3 separate regions of the Homo sapiens genome follow, and regions 2 and 3 are each linked to region 1. The links are contacts of gene promoters, found by promoter capture Hi-C in blood cells and fetal thymus (Javierre and others, 2016). All regions are on one chromosome and are shown on one strand. The core of a region is centred on a gene start or on the middle of the fragment in contact, and the rest is flanking DNA. Distances in the headings are between cores, read along the strand shown. Region 1 holds the start of PPP2R2A (protein phosphatase 2 regulatory subunit Balpha). Region 2 overlaps DOCK5 (dedicator of cytokinesis 5). Region 3 overlaps DOCK5 (dedicator of cytokinesis 5).

Region 1 (4,825 bases), core at 646-3,145:
AATACAGTAAAAGCCTTACATTCAGGCAAGACCTACCAGAAAAAAAGTAAATACCAAGAGTTAAAGAGTTTTCTTAAGTGTACAAAAAGCCTGCAGAAGAGTTAATAAGGTTAAACTACCATGAAACATAGAACGAAGAGAAAACTTCGGGAACATTACTGCCTGGGTAAGGAGTAATGATTCATATGAACCTTATCACCAAAGTGCACACACAGCAAACACTACACCCATTTCTTTGCATTCATTACCAGCAAATCACTGGCTCCAGACAGAGAGGAAAAGAAACCGAAATGAATGCTGCTAAAGAGACTGTCAAAGGAAGCTTGTTCTGCCTCCCTTCACCTCATCCCTTGACTCCAAAGGACCTGGCAAAGAATTCATTTTGCTAATGTCATCTCGTGCAAAACAATTTTAATCTCATTTCATTTTTCAACAAGGCCAACAAGCAACTTGTTTATAGCAAACCGTAAGTCAATCCGACATGTTAACTTTTTCAAAAGGTTTAATTATCTAAATAATGAATACAGCACGGAAAACTGGTCTCATCTCGGAATGTTTCTATTTCACGTGCAAGTACTGAGGTCGAAATGATTGAAAATGTCCTGGGGCTCTAGGGAGAAAGAAACTGAATCTAAATCTGCAACTGATTCTACTACATGAAGGAAAAGATTTAGCAATACCAACATGTACAAAAAGAATTCTCAAAGCAATTACATTACTTCTCTCTCCCCCATCACCCCTATTCCTTGCTAAATTTATTTCCAAACTGGTTTTCTCTCTACATCCTTTCCCCTCCCCTTCAAAGCTTCTACCTAAATCTCTCTCCTCCTTGCTATTTATATCTCTGAACTCCGCAACTATTTTAACTAACTCTACCAAACCCTTTTGGGAAAAGGACATCTGCAAAAAAGCTAACATGCTAAACGCAAAGTTTAAATTATTTTCATGCAACTTGCTGTACATGAAAGGCCTTGCACTCTTCGGCGGTAAAAGGGAAGAAACGGAAACGAAATGGTTCGAAACAAAAAATTTAGGCTTCCAGTCTCAAAAATATTGGCATCTACAGTGGGGAAAAAATACACATATGCCCCCACTGTATTTTAACTTATAAGGCGCTCTTCCTTCTCGAGGCAAAATAAATGTGTATATACACCCAAGAAGGCTTGCAGCAGGGGGAAAAATAGAAATTAAATGAAGACCTGCAGGAAAAAAAAATAAAGGCGGGGGGCAAGGTGGGGAGGTGGGAGAAGATCCACCAGGCTCCCGAGCGGGAGGGACAAATCTGCACGCACCCCCACCCCGCCCCACCCACGCCTCACCCCAAGCTCGCCGGCACACCCCACCCCCACCCCCGCCACGGCGCCAGCCCCGTTCTCCAAGCCCAGTGACTCTCACCGTGACCACTTGCCTCCCGGGAGCCCTCCCCGCCCCCACCCCACCCCTCTGGACCCTACTCCCTCAAACCCGAGGGGCGCCCTGTGGCTCTGCGCGAGGCGCGGGCGGTCGCTAGGGGGTGATGGAGGGAGGAATAAGGAAGCGGTGCCTTGTCAGGGGGCGAGGGGGATTTCTCCTTTACCTGCCATGTTGCGCTGCAAATGGTGACCCTGCTGGGTTCCTCGGGGTCTCCGCTTCCTGAACTCACCCCCCTCACCTGGGGATGGGGGGGTAGAGAGGGCGGATGGCGGCGGATGGCACCTGCGGGGGGAGGGGACGGGGGCCGGGGGGAAAAGGAAGGAGGGGCGGGCAGACCAGCCGGCAGGATGCTAGATTTCACTCTGGGGCTTCCCCGCTCGTGCTCTTTCTCCGGCAGCGGCGGCGGCGACTACGACAGCGACGGCGGCGGCGGCAGCGGCAGGGGCAGGCGACTCCACTTTCAAAATGGCGCCGGCTGGCCTGGCCAGTGACGTCACCTAGGGGGCGGAGCCGCCGGGCTGGGGCGGAGAGCGGAGGGGGAGGGGCGGGGGAGCGGCCGGGCGGCTCTTGGCCACGCCCCCTTCCTGCTGCGCCTGTGCCCCGCCCTCCGTGTCCCGGCCGGCAGGGCCTGCGCCGCGCCAGCGTCTCGCCATGGCATACCCTCTGTCCGCACCGCCTGCGCCAGGCCGCGGCTGTGTGCACCTAGCAGTGTCCCAGCCTCGAGCACTAGCGCCGGGGCTCTGGGGCGGGCTTAGGAGTCCAGTTTACGTGCTCTCCTGCAAGGATTCATGGGGTCCTATGTCTTCTAGGAATACCTGGGCCGGGCACGGTGGCTCATGCCTGTAATCCCAGCACTTTGGGAGGCTGAGGCGGGCGGATCACAAGGTCAGGAGTTCGAGACCAGCCTGGCCAACATGGTGAAACCCCGTCTCTACTTAAAAATATACAAAAATTAGCCAGGCGTGGTGGTGTGCGCCTGTAATCCTAGCTACTTGGGAGGCTGAGGTGTGAGAATTGCTTGAACCCGGGAGGCAGAGGTTGCAGTGAGCCGAGATCGCACCACTGCACTCCAGCCTGGGTGACAGAGCAAGACTCCGTCTCAAAAACAAAAAACAAACAAACAAAAAACCCCGTACTGCTTCTTAGGAAATTGTCACTTTGGATTAGCCCTGAGACCACAAAGAAAGGGACAGCGGTGCAGACTTACTGCTCAGCCGGGGTGAAAGTTCACGGGGTTCAGAGGGACACGATTGGGCTGGTTCTATCTGGGTGAATTAAATTACCTTCTCGTGGGCCCCAGGATCCAAGGCGGGAGTCCTAGGCACTGCGGACACTAAGAGTGATTTCTAAGAGAAACCTGAGTTTGTGATGAGAGGGTATGGCCCAAGAAGTGACCCGGCGTCTCTCCAGCTAAACGTGTTGGACTGCGTGCTTAAGAGCTGGGCTCAGGGCCGGGCGCGGTGGCTCACGCCTGTAGTCCCAGCACTTTGGGAAGCCGAGGTGGGAGGATCGCTTGAGGCCAGGAGTTCCGAGTTCGGCCTGGAGAACATAGGGAGACCCATCTCTCCAAAAAAAATTTTTTTTTTTAAATTAGCCAGGTATGATGGCGTGCCTATAGTCCCAGCTACTAGAAGGCTGCAGTAGGAGGACTGCTTGAGCCCAGTAGGTCAAGGCTGCAGTGAGCTATGTGATCACATCACTGCACTCCAGCCTGGGAGACAGAATGCGATCCTGTCAAAACAAAAACAAAAACACAAAAAGTGCTGGGCTCTGAAGCCAGGCTGCCTAATATGATTCCAAGGCTCAGGAGATGAAGATGACAGTCCTACCTGATAGGATTGTTGGGGAGATGAAATGACTTAATTTGAGCACATGATAAATGTTAGCTGCCGTTATTATTAGATTTGTATTGAAAGCATCGTCAGTAAGGTTAAGAGGTAGAAGGAAAAAAATGAACAGGAAATGCCAGTCATCAGCTATGAGGGGATGTGCACTTCTGTTGAAAGATGCTCTAATGATGCAGTTGCTATATACAGCACACTTTACATATCCCATTCCATCTCCACGATACTCCTAGGAGATAGATATGCACATTTTACACGTGAAAAACACCTGTAAAAGCATCCAGAATTTGGCCTAAGGCTGAATGGAGTGATAAAGGCGTTTGGAAACCAAGAAGGGGGAGTTAAAGATATTTACACGTCCTCCCCACCATCTCCACTTTCTACCATATTTTTGATTTCCAGGACAGTTGAACTGTAATGCAACGTTCAAAATTCCTTCAAAGGAACAACTGCACCACTGCATGATCATTCCTCTGTTTCTGCATGAATATTTCCCACGTTACCAATGAATTAATCAAAACTAAAAATCCACCCTCTATGTGTCATCTTTTGGCTACCTGTACAACAGGTACAAAACTTCAGTGCACTGCGTGCTGTATTTTCTTCAATGCTGGTGTTTTTCATAAATGTATTTCTCTGGGTATGCCTTCATTTATTTTCCTTTTTGCTTGCTCTGCCCTTCTTTGGTGGTTCAATCCCAGACTCTCCAGGGAGAGCTCTCCATCTTAACCAGAACCCAGAAGGAAGGAGAGAGAGAGAAAGGAAGACAGAAAAAGAGAATATAGACTTTACATACCCTGAAAATGATTTGGTTTACATAAATGATTTGTTCTTAGAAGCCAATAAAGCTTGCCTAGAAACTGGGATAATTATAACAAAAATGTATATAGCACCGACTTTGTGCCAGGTGCTGTTTTAAGAACATTATTTGGAGCCTTGGGGGTACTGCATGCCTGTGGAATGGGCTGACTTGGGTCTGATAATCAAGGGCCAGTGCACCCTGGCACCCTGGTGTAAACGACCTGGCTCTTTTTGGGCCCTGGTCAGCCCTTTCAGAGGACCATAAGCCACCTCCCTTTCATCAGAATGGCCATTAGGAGGAGAGGCCAGAACACCCGCTAGCCCAGAGTCAAGGGTTGCTCTTGTCCATCTCACTTCCATATCTATCTTCCACTTAAAAAAACATTTTTGCCAGGCACGGTGGCTCACGCCTGTAATCCCAATACTTTGGGAGGCCAAGGCAGGTGGATCAGCTGAGGTTGGGAGTTCAAGACCAGCCTGACCAACATGGAGAAACTCCATCTCTACTAAAAATACAAGAAAAATAGCCTTGTGTGGTGGTGCGTGCCTGTAATCCCAGCTACTCGGGAGGCTGAGGCAGGAGAATCGCTTGAACCAGGGAGGCGGAGATTGTGGTGAGCCGATATCAAGCCATTGCACTCCAGCCTGGGCGACAAAAAGCAAAACTCCCTCTCAAAAACAAAAAAAAACAAAACTTTTTTTTCTTTTAAAGACAGAGTCTAGCTCTGTCACCCAGGCTGGAGTGCAGTGGCATGATCATATCTCAC
Region 2 (4,825 bases), core at 1,650-4,149, 1.1 Mb after region 1:
GAGGGAATTAGTCTCCACTGTGTTTTCCTTCCCTCAAGCTGTTTTAAAAGACAAAGACACCGGCACAGTGCCTCATGCCTGTAATCCCAGCACTTTGGGAGGCCGACGCAGGCGGATCACGACGTCAGGAGATCGAGACCATCCTGGCTAACACAGTGAAACCCCGTCTCTACTAAAAATGCAAAAAATTAGCCGGGCATGGTGGTGGGCACCTGTAGTCCCAGCTGCTCAGGAGGCTGAGGCAGGAGAATGGCGTGAAACAGGGAGGCTGAGCTTGCAGTGAGCCGAGATTGCGCCACAGCACTCCAGCCTGGGTGACAGAGCGAGACTCCGTCTCAAAAAAAAAAAAAAAAAATTAGCTTGGCATGGTTGCATGTACCTGTAGTCCCAGCTACTTGGGTGGCTGAGGCAGGAGAATCTCTTGAACCCAGGAGGCGAAGGTTGCAATGAGCCGAGATCACGCCATTGTACTCCACCCTGGCAACAGAGCGAGACTCCTTCTCAAAAAAAAAAAAAAAAAAAAAAAAAAAGACAAAGACACGATCCTTAAAGAGAGGGCATCTTTGGGGTCCAACTATTATCTGATGTGGATAGTGACAGGGTTTAATCAGCTGTGGAAATATGAGAGCAAACGGCACATTTGGGAAAAGGTGGATAATGACCATGAACCCATTCGAACAACAGTGGCTTTGCAATGGCACAGAGCTTTCTGAAAGACAAAGCCCACTTCTGTCTCTTGCTTGGGAAGTGGCTGCCAGCATTCAGACAATCGTTTGAGTGAGCCCAGGCTCTGAGAGGACATGGCCCAAACATTACTTGGAAAAACACAATTAACGTGCTCATCCACATCTCTGCCTCAAAATAATTTCTCAAAAAACACTTTTATAAAGCTTGACAATAAAACCCCCATTATTCCGGAGGTATGCTGGTGTAGTTATAAATCAGTCAAAGGACTCCCAAAGGGCTTATTATGTCCTTTAATGTCCACGGAGAGTAGGCATATTCTGGGTGATTTTACCTGTTTGAGGAAGGGGAAAACGATTTTTCTTTCTACTAATTTTTTTTTTAAATAATAGACAGGGTCTCACTATGTTGCCCAGGCTGGTCTCAAACTCCTGGGCTCAAGCAATCCTCCAGCCTCAGCCTCCTAAAGTGCTGGGATTACAGGCATGAGCCACGGTGCCCAGCCAAAATATTTAGTGAAGAACAAACTGTGTGTTCCTTGACCACAGACATACGGTTCAATTCCGCTACAACTCATTCCAAAGAACTGGATGATTCCTTTTTTTTAATTCTTTTGAAAGTACTAAAATCTTTTATATGCATTGCATTATAACGTCATTGCATTGAATACTGCTGGCAATAAGCTAGAAGTTAGAAAAACTTTGCTTTATGGTAAAATTAAGTACAATGAGATTTGATTCCTTACATTCAAGCCCCACTGATTTGTCTCTTGAAATTTAGATGAGGAGAAAACACAAATTAATTTATATTTTCAGCTAACAAGATGGCTACATGACAGCTATGGCCACAAGAAAAATTTAGACAGACTAATGTTTGAGTAACCATGGCTTCAAAGCCCCTTGCCAGTATTCTAAATTACTTTTTCTTCTTCTCCAAATTACTTGTGATTTCTCAGATTTTTTATTTAATTATTGAGTGTACAGTACATATGCTCTTTTTGTAAGGAATCTCAACTCCTTGTATTAGAAATGGGAAATAACAGATGAATCTAAATGTCTTGTTTCTTCCATGAGACTGCGCCTTCTTTCCTTTCCAATTCATGTGCTCAACACAGCACCAACCAATGACTCAGAACCTCCTAAACTCTGTACACCACATGGTCAAGCATTTTCTTTCCAGGTAGCCAAGTCTGCAGTGCCCCTTCCTCCATAAAGCCTCCAGAAATAATGACCCAAAAATAAAAAAGCAAATCCCATCACTTCCATCTAATAATGCAACATTTATGATTCTAAGTCCTCACCCACCCCACAGGATTCACGTAATCTTTTGCTTATGCAGTTTATTAAATCTATTTTCTCCATTACTTGAATGTCCCTTTCTCTCTGCCTTTGATGTTTCTCTCATGGGAAATACACACAGGGTGGTATTTTCCAAAGTGTGGGCAAAATCCTGCTGATGGTAAGCAAGATGAATTTAAAGAGATGATGGGGTCAGTATTCATTTATTCATACAGCATATATTCACTGAGGACTTACTATGAGCCAGGTGCTATTCCAGGGGCTGGGGCACACTGATGAAAAAGAGTTCGTGTCCTCATAACTTTACATTCTAGTATGGGAGACAGACAGTAAACACTAACAAATAAATAAAGGAAAAGGGCTAGACATTGTGAGGTGTCAGCAAGGAGGTGGGATCATGCAGCTAGGGTTCTTCTCAGAGAAGGCTCTCTCTAAGCAGGGATTATTTGAAGGAAGACCAGAGAACCGGACATCTAAAGATCTAGGGAAACACATTCCATAAGAGGGAGGAGTAAGTGCCAAGGTCCTGAGTCAAGCTGAGCTTGGCAAGTTCAAAAACCAGAAATAAAGCTGGTGTGGCTGGAATGCAGAAGGGAAAGAGGGAGGCGGCAGGTCTGATCCCACAGGGCCGGGAGGGCATGACCAGGAACTTCAGTGCCATCCCAACTGCAATGGGAAGGTGGAAGCAGGGAGGTGGCAATGTCAGGTTCTTGCCTTTAAAAAGTTCCTCTTAGCTGGGCTTGGTGGTTCATGCCTGTAATTCCAGCACTTGTGAGGCTGAGGCAGGAGAATCACTTGAGGCCAGGAGTTCAAGACCAGCCTGGGCAACAAAGCAAGATGCCCATCTTAAAAAAAAAAAAAAAAAAAAAAAAGTGATAAGGAGTCCAGTTAGAAGACCATTGCAGCTGGGCGTGGTGACTCATTCCTGTAATCCCAGCACTTTGGGAGGCCAAGGCGGGTGGATCACTTGAGGTCAAGAGTTCAAGATCAGACTGGTCAACAAGATGAAATGCCATGTCTACTAAAAATACAAAAATTAGCCAGGTGTGGTGATGCGCACCTGTAGTCCCAGCTACTCGGGAGGCTATGGCAGGAGAATCACTTGAACCCAGGAGGTGGAGGTTGCAGTGAGCCAAGATTGCGCCACTACACTCCAGTCTGGGCGACAGAGCGAGACTCCGTCCCCAAAAGAAAAAAAAAAAAATACCGTTGCAGTAGCCCTGCAGACGCTAATGCAGGCTTGCATTGAAATGGAAACATCAGCAGCAGTAATCTGAGGACATATTTTGGAGGAAGGACAGACTGCACTTGATGACAGATAGAATGTGGGGTGACTCTTAGTGTTCTGCCTGGGCCACTGGACAGACAGCAAGAAACTGGGGAAAGTGCGGTTCTGGGGTTAGAGAGGATCCAAACTTCTGTTCTGGAAGCAGGGACTGCCTGTTAAGAAAAACACTGGGAGACGCCCAGTGAACAGCTGTATGTGATCCCGAAGCACAGGGAAGGGGTCTGGGGCTATCCATGTGGAAGGCTGCAGCAAATGAATGGGAATGAGAGCCAAGGCGGGGGATGAGATCACTTGTTATCAGGTAGATAAAGGAGACACAAAAGCCAGCCAGGCTATGGCAAGACTTAAAGTTGTGGCAAAGCGGAGGGAAGGCAGGGAGGATGGAGGGTGGGGATATGGGAGGAAAACTGTGGAGAAATGGGATCAAAAGTCTAGAGAAGAAAATGTTTCTAGAAGTAAAGTCAACTGCATCCAATATGTGAACAAAAACAAACACATGGGGAAAGGAAGTGATTCCATTTTCAATTATCTTTTATTTTTTTGAGACAGAGTCTTGCTCTGTTACCCAGGCTGGAGTGTAGTGGCGTGATCTTGGCTCACTGCAACCTCCGCCTCCTGGGCTGAAGCAATTCTCCTACCTCAGCCTCCCTAGTAGCTGCAATGACAGGTGAGCACCGCCACACCTGGCTAATTTTTTTTTTTTTTTGTATTTTTTAGAGATAGGGTTTCGCCATGTTGGCCAGGCTGGTCTCGAACTTCTGACCTCAGGTGATACACCCGCCTCAGCCTCCCAAAGTGCTGGTATTACAGGTGTGAGCCACCATGCCCGGCTTCAATTATCGTTTTGTGAAACTACAGTAGATCCTCATTGTTGACAGACTCCATATTTGCGAATTCACCTACTCACTAAAATATACATGGAACCTTAAAACCAATACTCCTGCACAAGTTCCTAGCTAAGGGTGAGCAAGGTGACGCTCTGCATTCTTTTTTCAGCTAACATATTGTAAACAAGTGTCTTTTTCAGGGTCTATTTACTGCCACATTTCTCTTATTTTTCTGCCTTTTTTTTGACCAGGGTCTCACTCGCTCACCCAGGCTGGAGTGCAGTGGCACGATCACAGCTAACTGCAGCCTTGACCTCCCCAGGCTCAGATGATCCTCTCACCTCAGCCTCCCAAGTAGGTGGGACCACAACCACATGCTACCATGCCCAGCTAATTTTTGTATTTTTTTTTGTAGAGACGGGGTTGCACAACGTTGCCCAGGCTGGTTTCAAACTCCTGGGCTTAAGCAATCCTCTCGTTTCAGTCTCCCAAAGTGCTGGGATTACAAGTGTGAACCACCACATTTGGCCTCATTTTTGTGCTTTTTGCTGGTGATTTTTCTATTTAAAATGGTCCCAAGCATAGTGCTACAGTGCTGTCTAAGTACCTAAATGCAAAAAAAAAAAAGCTGTAATGTGCCTTAAAAAAAAAAATACACGTTAGATAAGTTTCTTCATTCAGGCATGAGTTACAGTGCTTTTTGCCATGGGCTCAATGTTAGTGAACCA
Region 3 (4,825 bases), core at 1,138-3,637, 1.1 Mb after region 1:
AGTAGCATTATTCACAATAGCCCCCAAAATGGAAATAATTTATTAACTGATGAAAGGATACACAAAGTATGGTATATCCATGCAATGGAATACTATGCAGCAATGAAAAGAAATGGAATACAGACACATACTGCAACGTGAATGAACCTCAAAACATTACACTAAAGGAAAGAAGCCAGATGCAAAAGACCACATAGTTTATGACACCATTTATTCAAAATGTCCAGAATTTAGCAAATCTATCAAAGGCAATATAGGAGATTATTGGTTGCCTGGGGCTGTGAGGAGGGAATGGTGATTGACCACAAAAGGCCCTAAGGAGCTTCTTGGGGAGATGAAAACATCCTAAAACTGGGTTGCGGTGATATTTACACAACTCTGTAAATTTACTAAAAATCAGTGAATTATATGCTTAAAACGGGTGGATTTTATGGTATATAAATTACACTTGACGGAAGCTGGTTTTTTTTTTTTTTTAAGTAGATTTACTTCTTACCCTCACTCTACTGATGAGGGAACTACATCTTTCCAGGAAAAAAGAACTCCCTTAGAGATTCAGCTCTAGCCATGGACTTGACAATCCAAGGAACCCATAAGGCTCCCATCTCTGCAGGCCTGATGAGTGGCCATCCACACTGATGAATGGATAGTCACTCAGTCCATCAGTATATCCCACAGGGAAGAAAGGCGTCCTTGACATTGCCAGTGGTGGGTCTTCCCGGCTCTTCCCAGCTCTTCCCTGGGCCTGCAGTGCACCCTGCACCTGCAGCTTGGCTTACATCACAGTCAACCTCTCAGTGAGCAGGAAGGAGCACACGTCCAGCCACCTGTTTTCCAGTGGCCTCTCCTTGATAAAGGAAGTCATCCAAGTAGTGCTCTCCTGCACTCCTGGCACAGAAGCCTGGACAAAGTATGTTGGAATTTATTTTACTATTGAGCTTATGGACTAGGCTATGAATTTACAACCAGGATTGGCTGGTGACATAGGTTAGGAGAAATCGCACGCGATTCAGAAGTAGGAGTAATTCCCAATTCCTAGACTTTCTCATGGGTAACTGGGCCACCGCTGCTATTCCAGTGGAGTTCAACTCCTTCATTCGTCTGCTGGTTTACGCAAATGCTCTGCCTGCTAGTTTGGCAGACCTCATATCCTTGACATCTCCTACTCCCTATTCATGGCCTTGTACTGAAATGGTCCCTTCCATTGGCCCCCTTCTCAAATGAAAACAGGAAGTAGTGAGGTCACTGAGTCACAATGCATTGTGTAATGACCAAGCTTCACCTCTTCCTGGTTCCGGTCATTGGAAAAGTAAGCAGAAGCTCTCAAAGGCAGCACCTTGCACTGGAAGCTCCAAACACAAACACCTACCAAGGACTGCTGGAAACACACACACACACACACACACACACACATACACACACACACACACACACATATACACGCACACACCAAAGACCGGTTTGCTTAAAACCTAGATCTCTAAGCCTGACCCAAAATACCTCCAAAATTGTCCCAGCCCGTAATTATCTGTCTTTGTCTCCACTATCTGCGAAATTCCAGCCTACTCTCCAGTGAAGACTCCTATGTTCTCCCCTAAATTCTGAGCTCAGTCCATGGTTTGTTTCTGCCTAGAACAAGGGCCTGTCTTGATTTGTAACAATCCAAATCTCACATCCACAATGCAATTCAACAAATGGCTACTAGCTCCCGATTACCTGCGTGGATCTCTTTCTTCTCTGACATTCCACAACAATTTTCCCTTCCAGCGCAGTTTGGGTTTTTAATCATAGACAATCTTGTGTAATTGTCTGCCATCAATTAGAAGGAAATCCCTATGATTGGGGCCCTCGTTACACATTACTTTTGTGTCTTTCTCATTACAAGGCACAGGCTTAGTCCCAAAGAAAGTACTCAAGGTATAATAACGATGTCAGAAAAGAATATATTTTAAAAACACATATTTTTATCTCTTCTATAAAATCCATCAAAAAATTCAGTTATTCACCACTTCTTCCCCAAACTCAAACACACTTCTGCTTTCCTCCAGAGCAGAGGCTGTGGTTTCCCATCACTCAAGAAAGGGTTACTAAAATCACTTCTCCATCCATTTGGTTTATCACAAGAGAGAATCTGCCTCTCCAACCTAAGCTTTCAAAGAGATTCATGTTAGAAGCACATCCCTTCAAGAATGCCTTTCACTGGAATGAAAAGTCACCGCTTAGAGGATGTTTGTACAATCTGTTTCATGTCTCTGGGCAAAAGCACAAACAAGATTTCCAATCACCGCCGTCATCTATTCATTCTAACTCTTGGGTTTGGTAGTATGCCCTCCATATCATAATATACCTCACATTTCCAGCGTATTTCATAGTTTACTTTCATATATATCTTAGTAATTGTATACAGTGGATGCCAGGTGTCACATTATTTAATGCGGAAGCTGAGACTCAGAAGGGTTAAACCCAGCTTGCAAGCAGCAAAGCTGTTATAAAGCTGGTCTATTCATCACATTTGACCAAGCCAGTCCATAGTGGTGAAGATATGCCCTGGAATAGCCCAGAAACAAAGAGAAGAGCCTAGATTTCTCTCTTTAAATGACCATCCTACTTCCCAAACCAAGCTTTCTCATCACACACATCAGTGACTGGTGATCACATTGTCCGCTAGTCTGATGCTATTTCAAGAATGAGAGTACAGCTAATGCACTTAGTGGGCCCATAGTTTCTTTCTAGAACATGAATAACTGTTATAGAGAAAGCTAGAGAAATGGGAAACCAAGAAAAACCTCAGGGTAAGCAAAACGGATTCAAGACTCAACTTTACCACTTACACAATGCATGACCTTGAATGAGCTACTAAGCCTAGGCCTCAGTTTCTTATCTGTAAAACAGGATTGCCTTTAAAGAGCCCTCTGGTTCTAACGCCTTCTGATTCACGGGGTAATGAGAAGAGGCAAAAGAAACATGTGCCATTTTTGAACCGGCAGGCACCACCACAATCTCTTGTTTTGACTGAGGAAATTAAACAAGAACCGGGAGTTGCTGTACATACGTTGCCTCGCTGGCTGCCATGAACAGCACTGGGAAAGACAAATTGCTGGAATTCTTCCCTAAGCAGCTTACTGTTTATAACAGGAAAGTATAATTTTGCAGAGCCAAGTAGACAAGACAAAATAGTTTGCATTTTACTGAATCTTTGATTTGGCTCTTTCTTTTAAACCAGGCTTACATGAGAGAAGAAAACTGAAGTCCTGGGATTATGCAATAAGAAACCAACAGAACAGACTTACTGGCTGCAAACTGAGTGATCAGTTTTGACAATGAAAAGTCTGTAGGCTAGAAAGTAATAAATATTTCTTTTTTTATGTTTATTTTTTATTTTTTTGAGACAGGATCTCACTCTATCAACCAGGCCAGAGTACAGTGGCACAATCGTGGGTCACTGTAGCCTTGACCTCCCTAGGCTCTGGTGATCCTCCCGCCTCATCCCCCCAAGTACCTAGAACGACAGGCATGTGCCACCACACCTGGCTAATTTTTAAAATTTTTTTGTAGAGACAAAGTTTCACCATGTTGGACAGGCTGGTCTCGAACTCCTGGGCTCATGTGATCCACCCACCTTGGCCTCCCAAAGTGCTCAGATTACAGGCATGGGACATCCAGTCCGGCCAAGTAATGAATATTTCTAATGAATGAGATTATTACATGAATCCTCAAATTACAATCCCCTGAAGAATAGCTACATTATATTTTTTATTAGTCACCTGATAGAATCTACAAAAGAAAGATCCAGCAAACACAGAATGAGATACCCATTGGAGACATATATCATTCATAATATTCCAAAGATGACTATGGCCAGGCGCAGTGGCTTATGCCTGTCATCCCAGAACTTTGGGAGGCCGAGGCAGGTGGATAAGTTGAGGTCAGGAGTTCGAGACCAGCTTGGCCAACATGGTAAAACCCCATCTCTACTAAAAATACAAAAAAAAAACCACACAAAAAAACTAGCTGGGTGTGGTGGCTCATGCCTGTAATCCCAGCTACTCAGAAGGCTGAGGCAGGAGAATCGCTTGAACCTGGGAGGCGGAGGCTGCAGTGAGCCAGCATCGCACCACTGCACTCCAGCCTGGGCAACAGAGTGAGACTCTGTTTCAAAAAAAATAAAAAAAAGATGGTTACAATTCTTCTTTTCCATTATGATCTTGATCTGCCTAGTTTCAGATATGCATTCTATAAAAACTAAAGAGGCACAACTCATCTTTGATCTTCATCTTGGCTTTCCTGCAATGATATCCAAGAGGGCCAAACAGATTTCATTTTCTTATGCTCTGTAATTACACTGTACTATAAGGACAAGAAAATCATATTCAATAATAGGTATAACACCAAGAAGTCAAATCTGTGGTTTTAGGATGATAATTACAAGTAGGTTCCAAATCAGTCTTTCTACAATGAGATGACCATCACGCCACCTCTCTGCTCAGACCCATCCAGGACGGAGGCTATCAGGTTAGGACATCAGCTCTACTTCTCACCAACAGTACTCCATAAGAGCAGGCTCTTACAGGATTCTTAACTTCATTTTCTAGATAGTTTAGGAGAAGAGAGGATTTCATAATCAATGCATTGATTACTATTTAGAAATCTCTATCTTGGCCAGGTGCAGTGGCTCATGTCTGTCATTCCAGCATTTTGGGAGGCCGAGGCAGGTGGCTCACTTGAGGCCAGGAGTTCAAGATCAGCCTGGCCAACATGGTAAAACCCAGTCTCTACTAAAAATATAAAAATTAGACAGGCATGGCAGCACGCACCTGTTATCCTA

What was found. The method cuts DNA at HindIII sites, captures the fragments that hold promoters and counts their contacts. A CHiCAGO score of 5 or more calls a contact.
Region 2: a fragment that was not itself captured here is called in contact with the fragment with the promoter of PPP2R2A in region 1 in 1 of 17 cell types (M2 macrophages); the score reaches 5.0 in M2 macrophages.
Region 3: a contact is called between a fragment that was not itself captured here and the fragment with the promoter of PPP2R2A in region 1, in 1 of 17 cell types (M0 macrophages). The highest score is 6.4, in M0 macrophages.

What each region holds. Positions count from the first base shown.
Region 1 is chr8:26,288,578-26,293,402 of GRCh38, reverse strand. PPP2R2A (protein phosphatase 2 regulatory subunit Balpha) reads right to left here and starts at 1,895. Exons shown (of 10, transcript NM_002717.4): 1 at 1,577-1,895. The coding sequence starts at 1,583. RefSeq lists a silencer at 1,744-2,093. The HindIII fragment of the contact is 3,300 bases long and covers 808-4,107 here.
Region 2 is chr8:25,193,281-25,198,105 of GRCh38, reverse strand. The region is part of intron 1 of DOCK5 (dedicator of cytokinesis 5); the gene reads right to left. Among named protein-coding and RNA genes, the nearest start is that of DOCK5, 11 kb to the right of the region's middle. RefSeq lists enhancers at 1-163, 164-1,104. The HindIII fragment of the contact is 4,013 bases long and covers 893-4,825 here.
Region 3 is chr8:25,235,930-25,240,754 of GRCh38, reverse strand. The region is part of intron 1 of DOCK5 (dedicator of cytokinesis 5); the gene reads right to left. Among named protein-coding and RNA genes, the nearest start is that of DOCK5, 54 kb to the right of the region's middle. The HindIII fragment of the contact is 472 bases long and covers 2,152-2,623 here.